Regions from separate parts of the Homo sapiens genome. Here region 2 is linked to region 1. Evidence: promoter capture Hi-C in 16 types of primary human blood cells and fetal thymus (Javierre and others, 2016). All regions are on one chromosome and are shown on one strand. Each heading gives the region's core, a stretch centred on a gene start or on the middle of the fragment in contact. The rest is flanking DNA. Distances are from core to core; before and after follow the strand shown. Region 1 has its middle 6.4 kb from the start of ANGEL1. Region 2 holds the start of TMED8 (transmembrane p24 trafficking protein family member 8).

The links. The method cuts DNA at HindIII sites, captures the fragments that hold promoters and counts their contacts. A CHiCAGO score of 5 or more calls a contact.
Region 2: a contact is called between the fragment with the promoter of TMED8 here and a fragment that was not itself captured in region 1, in 1 of 17 cell types (neutrophils). The highest score is 5.9, in neutrophils.

What each region holds. Positions count from the first base shown.
Region 1 is chr14:76,816,424-76,822,196 of GRCh38, reverse strand. No RefSeq gene overlaps it. Among named protein-coding and RNA genes, the nearest start is that of ANGEL1, 6.4 kb to the right of the region's middle. RefSeq lists an enhancer at 1-163. The HindIII fragment of the contact is 4,403 bases long and covers 1,042-5,444 here.
Region 2 is chr14:77,374,457-77,380,058 of GRCh38, reverse strand. TMED8 (transmembrane p24 trafficking protein family member 8) reads left to right here and starts at 2,965. Exons shown (of 6, transcript NM_213601.3): 1 at 2,965-3,123. The coding sequence starts at 3,006. It overlaps SAMD15 (sterile alpha motif domain containing 15), which reads right to left and starts at 2,680. Exons shown (of 3, transcript NM_001010860.4): 1 at 952-2,680. The coding sequence starts at 2,640. RefSeq lists an enhancer at 2,698-2,907 and a silencer at 2,958-3,387. The HindIII fragment of the contact is 9,682 bases long and covers 1-5,602 here.

The sequences.
Region 1 (5,773 bases), core at 1,994-4,493:
GGGCAGAGGGGCTCCTCACTTCCTAGTAGGGGTGGCCGGGCAGAGGCGCCCCTCACCTCCCAGACGGGGCGGCTGTCCGGGCGGGGGGCTGACCCCCCCACCTCCCTCCTGGACAGGGCGGCTGGCCGGGCGGGGGGCTGACCCCCCCACCTCCCTCCCGGACGGGGCGGCTGGCCGGGCAGAGGGGCTCCTCACTTCCCAGTAGGGGCGGCTGGGCAGAGGCGCCCCTCACCTCCCGGACGGGGCGTCTGGCCGGGCGGGGGGCTGACCCCCCCACCTCCCTCCCGGACGGGGCGGCTGGCCGGGCGGGGTGCTGATCCCCCCACCTCCCTCCTGGACGGGGCGGCTGGCCGGGCGGGGGGCTGACCCCCCCACCTCCCTCCCGGACGGGGCGGCTGGCCCAGCAGAGGGGCTCCTCACTTCCCAGTAGGGGCGGCTGGGCAGAGGCGCCCCTCACCTCCCGGACGGGGCGTCTGGCCGGGCGGGGGGCTGACCCCCCCACCTCCCTCCCGGACGGGGCGGCTGGCCGGGCGGGGGGCTGACCCCCCCACCTCCCTCCCGGATGGGGCGGCTGGCCGGGCGGGGGGCTGACCACCCCCACCTCCCTCCCGGACGGGGCGGCTGTCCTGTGCCCTTTTGACATCCTCCTTCCCCTTTTTTTGAGCCCTCCCTCACTCTCTGGAGTCACAGAAATTACTTTTCTGGGCAGGCGTGGTGGCGCATGCCTGTAATCCCAGAACTTTGGAAGGCTGAGGCAGGAGGATCACCTGAAGTCAGGAGTTCGAGACCAGCCTGGCCAACATGGCAAAACCCTATCTTAGCTAGGTGTGGTGGCACGTGCCTGTAGTCCCAGCTACTCAAGACGCTGAAGCACAAGAATCAGTTGAACCCGGGAGGCGGAGGTTGCAATGAGCAGAGATCTCTCCATGGCACTCTAGCCTGGGTGACAGTGAGACTTTATCAAAAAAAAAAAAAAAAAAAAAAAAGGAAGAAGTTATCTCTCCAAGGAGAATTATATTTGGAAACCTAGATCTGGAAGCTTGTGCATTCATCACCATGTGGGTATCACTACTTCTAGACTTTTTGGTGAACAGAGCTAGGAAATGTGTGTGTGTGCATGTAAACTAATCCACCCATAACACACATATATATTTATTTCCATACCAGTCTATCTATATATGTACATTGAACAAAAACCATCTATAATGATGCCTCGATCCCCAGCCTAGCACTACATGACTCATTCATGCCTTCTCCTTTTTCATATTTGTCATTTCTTTCTCCTGGCCAGAAACCTGGCTCTTGTTTTCTACCATATATCTGCTTATTTGTTCATCTCTAATATATATACATAATTAGTTTCGGAATTGCTAAGCCATAGTCCTAGAAACAAATTTACTAACTAGAGCATGGTGTCAGTATATAAGTTGTGGTTGTTTATCCTTGTGGTAGCCAGTCAAAATACTTTTTTCCCCAGTTATTTAGGTCAACTCTTTCTTCCCACCCGCTTCAGTGGGTTATTTAATTCACTTGTAATACAGTTAGATTCATTTGTCAGAGTCTGCATTTCATCTTTCCCCAATATCCTGGTTGATTTTATTGTGGCTGACATATGGCAGAATTCATTCTTTGTGGTGTACAGTTCTACATGTTTTGACAAATCCATGAAGTCACATATCCACCACCACAGTCCAATTCAAAAGAGTTCCATCACCCTCAACAGCCTCTCATGCTGCCTCCTTTACCCCTCGTCCCTCCCTGTCTGCTGGAAACCAGTCTTCTCTTTTCTATCCTAATAGTTTTGCCTTTCCTAAATTATATTAATGAGGCCATACAATGTGTAGTTTTTTGAACTAGTTTCTTTCATTTAACAAAATGCATTTAAGAGTCATCCATGTTGCTGCAGAGTTCCTTTTTATGGCAGAGTAATAGTCTGTTACAGAGATGTACCACACTTTGCTTATGCATTCACCTGCTGAAAGACATCTTCATATTTTCCACTTTTTTGGTGATTATGAATAAAATGGCTATCAACATTCATGTGCAGGTTTTTGTGTGAACATGAGCTTTCTTCTCTCTTGAGTAAATACTTAGGAGTGGGATTGCTGTGGACTCATTTCTTTCCTTTTCTTTTTTTCTTTTCTTTTTTTTTTTTTTGAGACAGAGTCTTGCTCTGTCGCCTAGGCTAGAGTGCGGTAGTGCAATCTTGGTTCACTGCAACCTCCGCCTCCCAGATTCAGGCGATTCTCCTGCCTCAGCCTCCTGAGTAGCTGGGATTACAGGTGTGTGCCACCATGCCTGGCAAATTTTTGTATTTTTAGTAGAGACAGGGTTTCACCATGTTGGCCAGGCTGGTCTTGAATTCCTGACCTCAGGTGATCCACCCGCTTCAGCCTCCCAAAGTGCTGGGATTACAGGAGTGAACCACTATGCCCAAACGTGTATGCCCATTTTGAATTCCCACCAGGAATGTATGACAGCATCAGTTGCTCCACATCCTTGCCAATATTTACCATTTCCAGTTTTTGGTTTTGTTCTTCCATTCTAGTAAGTGTGTAGTGGTATTTCATGATGGTTTTAATTTGCATTTCCCCAATGATTAATGATGTTGAGCATCCTTTCGCATGCTTACTTGCCATTTATATATTTCCTTTGTTCTTGGTTCAGATCTTTTGCTCATTTCATTTTATTTACTATTTTTTTTGAGATGGAATTTCGCTCTTGTTGCTCAGGCTACAGTGCAATGGTGCGATCTTGGCTCACCACAACCTCCACCTCCTGGGTTCAAGCAATTCTCCTGCCTCAGCCTCCCGAGTAGCTGGGATTACAGGCATGCACCACCACGCCTGGCTAATTTTGTATTTTTAGTAGAGATGGGGTTTCTCCATGTTGGTCAGGCTGGTCTCGAACTCCCGACCTCAGGTGGTCTGCCCGCCTCAGCCTCCTAAAGTGCTGGGATTACAGGTGTGAGCCACCGCGCCTGGCCCTTTTACTCGTTTTAAGTTGGGTTGTTTATTTTTTTATTGCTGAGTTTGGCAAATTCTTGATATATTCTGGAAATAAGTCTTTTGTCAGAAATGGGATTTGCAAATATTTTCTCTCAGTCTGTGGCTTGTCTTCTCATTCGCTTAACAATGTCTTTCACAGAGTAAAAGTTTTAATTTTAATAAAGCCAAATTTTGTCAAAATTATACAAATATTATCTTTTTTTTCCTATTATGGATCACATTTTTGGTGTCATATCTAAAAATTATTTGCCTACCCCAAGGTCATGCGGATTTTCTCCTGTTTTGCTCTAGAATTTTTATAGTTTTGGCTTTTGCATTTAGGTTTATGATCCATTTAATTTTTTTATTGTGGTGAAACATGCATGATAAAATTTGCCATTTTAACCATTAAATTTAACATTTTAAAGTGTACAATTCAGTGAGTTTAAGTATATGCACAATGTTGTGCAACCATCACCCCTATCTATTTCCAGAACTTTTCCCGTGACCCATTTTGAGCTAGTTTTTGTATAAGGTGTGAAGTTATAGGTTGAGATTCATTTGTTTCACTTGTGGACGTTCAATTGTTCCATCGCCATTTATTGAAAAGACTATTCTTTTGCCATTTAATTGTCTTTTGACCATTGTTGAAAATCAGCTGAATTTGTACCTTTTCAATTTTGTTGTGGGGCTAGTATTTCAGAAACCACATAACCAGCATGTGCTGTACCCTCTGATTAAACTGTTGTGCTTTTGAACTACTGGTTTGTGAGGTAAGCCATCATGGTACTGAGAGGTGGGTCTGAAAGCAGTTAGGGGTGGGAGGTGCATTGACTGTACAGTTAATCCAAGGAGCTTGGCTGACATTTTGAGGACAGTGGGAGTTTGCACTAAAAGGTCTTAGGCAGCAGTGACCTGATACGATTCACACAGTGGAAAGATTGCTCTGGCTACAGTGTGGAAAATGGATCGAGGTAGGGGAGAATCAACACTAGTCAGGAGTGGCTGGAGGAAGTGGACCCATTGAATAAATACAAAGAAGGCCAAACCACATGGATCTGGGAATCAATCAGATATATAAGAGAAAGCAGAGAAGAAAAAAGCGGGGGCCAGGATAGCTCAGTACATGGCTGTGCAACTCCTAAAGGAGAGAACAAAGGAGCTGGGGCAGGGGTCTTTTGGAGGATGGTGGCGGGGAGGTGATGAGTACAGCTTTGACTGGGTTGAGTCTTTGAGTTGTCGCTGGAGTGCCCACTGGGAGAGGTCCACAGGCAAAAAGATTTATGGGTCTGTGACCCAGGAAAAGGATTTGGGTTAAAAATGTAGATGTGTGAGTTGTCAGCATATGGATGGTATTTGAAGCCATTGGAGTGGTGAGACTTTCTCAAGAAGGGACAGTGGAGTAAGAGGAGGGGAGAGGCCAAAGGAGAAATCCTAGGAACATCATCAGGAAAAGGGTGGTGGTGAGAGGAACAGAAGTGAAGGATACAAGGATAGGACATCCACCAAGACAAGCGGAAAACAAGAATGTCACAGAAACCGAGGGAAGAGAATCTTACAAGAAGGGGGAAGTTATGCAAAATTACAGAATATTCAAGAAATAATAATGCCTAGGGCGTGTTCTTTCTGCAGGACCCTACTATCCTCAACAAGGAAAGCATCAGGAACAGTGAGGAGGGAGTTTTGGTGGTGTAATGGTGGTGGAAGCTATATCTCAGTGGAATGAGCATGAATAAGAGTGAGGAATTGTAGACAGCAGCTGCAGACAACTCTTGCAAGAAGATTGGCTGTGAGAGGTGGGAACGCAGGGGCTAGCTGGAGGGGACCTGGCACTGAAGGAGGGCTTCTTGACAGGAGTGACTTGAGCATGCTTAAATGTTGATGACAAGGGGTCAGTGAAGGAAAGGAGAGGGGTAGTAGAAGGAACATCATCTCAGAGGAAGGGGGAGGGGGTCCGGAGCATGGTGGAAGTGCCAACTGCTGTGTTGGGAGAAGAGGAAAAGGTGGTTAGAGATGCTGGTCAATGCATTGTTGTGGCAACAGGGAGTAGAGAATTTACACTTGGTGGCTCTATTTTTTTCTCTAAAGTTGATGGGGAGATAATCTCCTAAGAGCAAGAAGGGAGGCAATAGGGCAGAAAGTTTGAGAAGAATAATCATTGTGAGAATGGGAGAGAAAGCTAATTAAAGAGCATAGAATTGCTGGGGAGGGTTGCGAGCAGAAGAGAGGTTGGAGACTAGCACACTAATGGCCTCAATCTTTGGGGTTGGTAATTTTATTCATTGTTGCTCAGCAGCCCAGATGTAAGAGCCAAGAAGAATAGTTTTACTGACCCACGCAGATATAATCTAAGAACAGTGGGCAGGAGAGTTGATGATATTGGGAAGAGTGATTTAAAAGAGGGGTCATGGGAATTCCATGTTGGATAGGGAAAGAAATGATGACTGAGGGAAAGCTTGAGAAGGACAGACTAGAGAAATCAAGGGTCTGATGGAGTTAAAAGAAAAGATGAAGTAGAAGTGGGAGAGGCAGAAAGCCATGAGAAAGCCATGCCATCAGAGTGGGTGTGTGAATTTATGATTTCAGACGGGAAACAGTGCCCAGTAATGACATATCCAAGGTGCAGCCAGGGAAGGGTGTGTCTGAAGCACATGGAAATGAAGGTCATTAAGGAGGTCATGGCAATGAGCTTCCAGGGGTTAGGATGGCTCATCCACACTGGTGACAGGAGGACTAGAGGTAGGGAAGAAGACTGTGAGTCCAGGGCTGAAGTTTCAAGGAATCGA
Region 2 (5,602 bases), core at 1,716-4,215, 560 kb before region 1:
TAACTGTTTTTTTGGGCATGGTACAACCAGTGCTTCTTCATGTCTCAATTACATTTGTAAGTATAGTAGGTACAAAAGGTTTCAGATCTTGTATTGTTTTGTGGTAGCCTTAAACCTAGTTGGCATCAGTGAAACAAGAGGTTTACACTGACTTTTTACTAAAACTAGTTTTGGTTAACTGGCTAACTTGAATTAATACACTTAAGTGCTCATGATACAGGTGACATATTTGGGGCAGACACTTTAAAAAGTAATAGCACAAGTTCAAAGCAAGGGAGCTGCCACTAAAATAACTTGACAAAGTACCAAAAAGCCTACCTTGAACAAAGTCTACTTAAAAATACAGTTTTCTATGAAAGGAGGTCTAAGGCCGGGCACGGTGGCTCACGCCTGTAATCCCAGCACTTTGGGAGGCTGAGGCTGGCGGATCACGAGGTCAGGAGATGGAGACCATCCTGGCTAACACAGTGAAACCCCGTCTCTACTAAAAATACAAAAAATTAGCCGCGCATGGTGGCGGGCGCCTGTAGTCCCAGTCCCAGCTACTCAGGAGGTTGAGGCAGGAGAATGGCGTGAACCTGGGGAAGGTGGAGCTTGCAGTGAGCCGAGATCGTGCCACTGCACTCCAACCTTGGCAAGAGCGAGATTGTGTCTCAAAAAAAAAAAAAGAAAGGAGGTCTATATACTCTTCTTGGTCTTTTATTCAAGGATTGCAGAGAAGTGTAATCACTGGAAGAGGAAAAACAAACCGATGTGACCCTCCCTTCCTCTCCCAAAATACAAATATACATCAGTGGCAAGGCCAAAATTAAAATCCAAGTTACCTCTACCACAGTCTAGGACTTTTTGATACTCCTTCCGGTAAAGAGGTAAGAGCTCAGGCCAAGTTAGAAGGAATAAGAAGTAGACGGATGACAGCATGTGATTTCAAAACATCTTATTTTTGTATACCTTGTATTGAGGGAAGCCTAGCTGGCTAATCCACTCTGCAACTTCCTCTGGATCCCAATTAAGATGCTCAAATTGTAACTCAGTCCCTTTTTCTGGCTGGGTTTCGTCATCTTCAGAGACCCGTTCCTTCAACTCTTGGGACAAATCTACAACTTCCTTTTCATGAACGAACTCACTTAATTCTGTCTGAGACTCTGAGGGATCTGAGTATGAGCATTCTTCACTGACATTAAGCAATTTTTGGAGTGGTTGCAAAAACTCATAATGTGTACCAATTGATTCTTCACTTTCTCTGAGAGATCCTAATGCGTAATATTCTTTTCTAAATTTGTCACTTAGTGACAACTTTCCTCTTTTAGGCTCACGGTGCTCTAGCTCATCGTTTCCTACAGAATACTTAGACTTTATTGGTTCTGGCCTGTCTTCCTTGGAAAATTCTACATGTGTCTCCCTTGGTTTGGTTTCATCTGGTAACTCTAGAATTTTCTCAGTTGGCTTTGTTTGTGTTTTCTCTTCAACTTGTGGGTTGATCTCCTGTGGTAGCACTGGACCAGTCTCCTCTGGTGGCTGTGGATTTTTTTTCTCATTTGACTTTCTTATCTCTTCTGGACTTTCTGGTTTCATCATTTCTGATTGTTCTAGAATTGTTTCCTCATTTGTTTTTCTTGATTCTTCCTCAGGAAACTCTAATTTGATCTCTTCTAGTGGCTCAGGAACGTTCTCATCAGTAGACTTTCTTGGCTTGTGGTCTGGAAAGTCTGGTTTAGTCCGCTCAGGTAGTTCTGTCCCTTTCTCCTCAGTTGCCTTTCTTTGCATCTCCTCTGGAACCTCTGGTTGAGTCTCTTCTGGAGGCTCTAGACCTGCCTCCTCACTAGACTTTCTTGGTTCCTTCTCCAGAAATTCCAGTCTAGCCTGCTCGGGTGGCTCTGTCCTTTTCTTCTCAGTTGACTCTCTTTGTGTCTCCTCTGGAGTCTCTGGTTTGGTCATCTTTGGTGGCTGAAGATCTGTCTCTTCAAGTGATTCTCCTAGTTTCTCACTTGGAAAATCTTGTTTGGTCTGCTCTGGAGGCTCTAGACCTGTCTCTTCATGTTGCACTCTAAGTGATTCCTCTGGAACCCCCGGTTCAGTCTCCTCCTCTAGTAATTCTAAATTTCTCTCTCTGACTGTGGCCCCCGAAACCTCAGACATGGTTTCCGTTGGTGGCACTGGATCTGGATCTGTTTCCATAGCTGACTCTAGGAACACATCCTCTGTAACATTTGGTTTAGCCTCCTCTGGTGGCTCTAGGTCTGACTCTTTATGCGTTTCATCCATAGGGGCCTCCAAATCTTTGAAAAACTCTCCCATCTCTCTGGATGTTTCCGACTTTACCTCTTGGTGTATCCCTGGTTCAGTTTCGCTTGGTACGTCTCTCTTGGACTCCTTGGCAATTCCTTCCTGGGACGTCCCGCCAGGTTTCAGCTGCACGTTCTTAGCACTGTCTGGCTCCCCCTCTTTGAAGTCCTCTTCCTCGGTCTCTGGCTGTGGCTCTTGGTAAATCTCTGCTGGTAGCTTCGAGTCTGCCTTTGCCATGGTGTCTGGTTCGGCATTTTCATACAATTTATGAAGTCCAGGCAGTTCAGGCCTCTCAGGCTCCAGCTCTCCATCTTCATCTGGGCCGGAATCATAATCCTCCGGGACTTCAGCCATTTGCAGCTTAGCAGACGCGCCGCGGCTTCCTAGCAACCCCAACTTCCGATAGCGTCTCTATGGATACCACGATTTCCGGCAGTGTCTTCCTGACTCTTCCCCAGGTTTTGTTTGTTCTTTCAAGCCCTGACTTTAAAAATCGTCTGTCACAAGCACGCAGTAACCCTCCCTGCGGCCTCATCGCCAGCCTCAGCGGGCCAGAGCTCCTGTGGCCGCCCCTGGGTCAGCTAGCTTTTCAAGCGGCCGCCGCGCCGCTTCTTCCGGCCTGCAGGCTGCGCTCGGCTGTGCTCGGCGCTCGCTCGGCCTTCGGCTGTTTCCGGAGCCACTCGCGGCTGGCAGCGGAGAGCTCCGTGCGCGGGCTGCAGATGTCTGACCTGCAGGCGGCTGAGGGGCCGGGCTCCTGGAGCCCCACAGCCCGCCCAGGGTCGGCTGGCGGCGTCGGGGACTGCCAGGGAGTGGAGGGGAGCCAGGCGGCCGCCTCAGGTACGCAAGGCCGGGGCGCTGGCGGGTGGGTGCCGCCCGGCCTCAGGGCCCCGCACCACGGCGCGAGCCTCCGCCGCGCTCTGTCCTGGGCTTCCCCGCGGAGCGGACCCACCTCGGCAGCCCCTTCGCGCGCGGGGCCCCTTCCCCGCCGCTGCCACCACCCGGGCCCTGGGCTCGAGGTTATTTTCTACTCACTCCTGTTTCGAAATGCCTTGATTCCTGCCCCGCTTCCTTTCTGAGATCTGCCCAAATGGTAGTGACAGGGTGGCTCTGCCCCTGGCGCCTCTTCAGCTTCAGTTTCAGCTTCAGCCGGGGTTCGGGTCCCACCTCCGTCTGCTAATCACATCTAGACTGCCGACCCGAACCCTACTGGCCTCGCCGCCCCCTGCTTCTGGCTCCCCACCCTATCCCCATCTCAGTCCCCTGCCCCAGCCTTACCACGCGCCTCTCGGCCCCCACCCGGGTTGGCAGCCTTGCCTTCCTCTGCCAGAAGCCCACTGCGCCCTAGCCTTCCTGCACATAGGCCCCCTGGCCTTGCTGCCATCCTCTCCATCGCTTAGAGTGGGAAAAATGAAAAGCAGAGTTGAAATAGGTAGTGTCTGGGGTCTTTTGCTTGAACACAGTAGCCAAAGCAAGAGCAGGAATTAAAAATTTGGCCTACCTCCCTCATTCTCAAGACCCTCATCCTCTTCTTGTCCAGGACGACGTCTCCATTTCTACTAACGCGAGTTCCTCCGTGTGTATTATTTCAGTGTCCAAAGACAAAAGAGTCCATCCATCACACTTTCTTCTTTCAGCCTCCTGAACACCACACACGATGCAACTGAAAGGATGCTCTTTTGAAATACGAAAGGGTAGAGGGGAGAGAACTTGTCTTATTTAAGTAGCAAATATAAATTAATTTTCTAGGTCTGAAATTAAAATAGACACCATAAAGTATAATGGTTGAGGCACTACTGTGGAGCCAGGGTGCCTGGATTGGAGTCTGAAACGTCAGTTTCCTCATCTGTAAAATGTGATTACTAAAAATATCTGCCTCATAGGATTATTGTGAGGATTACTTGAGCTGCTTTGTCTAAGGCATTTGGGGTATAGTCCATGGTACACACTATACTCGTCTCAACCATTGTGACAGTAAGGTCTCTTTTTGTTCAGTTGAACTTCCTGTGCCGCCAGAGGTGTTCTTGGATGTATGGCTTCCAACATGGTGCCTTTTTCTGTCTTCTACTCTGATCCCAAGTATCTTCCCTCTCATAATGCTGCCTTATTCAAACACACACACAACTCACCCAGCTCTTTCCCATGATTTTATATTCTTTTACTTTAAAACACCTGACAAATTTTGCCTTTTTTTCTTACGAACTCTGCTTTGTATTAAATTAAAAATCGTTGGCATATATTTAACATAGCAGTAGAAATTCTAAGCATAATGTCTAAAAGACTAAGCAAGTAAACACAGAAAGGTAAGTCTTATAACACTTGTCCCTTGCATGCGCCAGTATTTACAAATTAAGCATGTTTTTACTTCCCCTTTAGGTTCTCATGTGTTTATGGCAAACGTACCCACGCGTTTTAGATAGATGAGTGTGTTTTTTTTTCCCCCTGACATCTAATTCATTCCTGCATTCACTTCCTCCCAGGACATTGGTAGAGATGCTTACTTTCCTTCCTCTTACCCTCAGAATGCAGGGTGATAATTTTTTTTTTTAATGTCATGTAGGGGTTTATTATAGTAGCCCAGAGCAAGCTCTTCCTCTTGAGGTAGGATTTGTTGCTAATAAAATAATAGTAATGATAACCTACAGATATTGAATGCTTATTCTGTGCCAGAGGTGGAAAAAAATTTATATTTTCTGATTTAGTCATGTCAACAATCATTTTCTTCCCATTTTACAGAGGAACAAACTACAGCTGAGAAAGGTTAACTTACCTGTTCAAGTTAGCGCAAGTTTTTACTGTCTGGATGAAATTGTCATCTTGTTATGATGAAGTCTATAATTGTTTGTTTTTATTGGCCATGAATCAAGTATTGGTACTCGCAGACAGGTTATGGTCTCTGTCCTCAAGGTGTTTTCAGTTTGATGAGATGAGAGATCCATTTCAGGGAGAAACAATTAACAATTCAAAACATTATATAATTGGGCGTCTTTTATTACAATTCTTTATCTACTAAGAAACCTGCTTGGAGTTAGGAACGGAATCTCTCTTGCTTGTTTATTTATCTAGAGCCCTTGATGTTGTGTTTTAGAGGTTTCGCAAATATTTGCTGAGTTTGATGGTGAGAGAAAGTCTGAATGCAGAGATCTGGATGAGCATCTAATGAATGTGAAGAATTAGGGTTGAGATAACCAAGAATGTTCCTTGGGTTAGAGCAATGGTTTTCAACCAGGTACGATTTTGTATCCCCAGGGCATGGCAATGTTTGGAAACATTTTTGCTCGTCACAACTGGTGGCAGCTATTGCTGACATCTAGTGAGG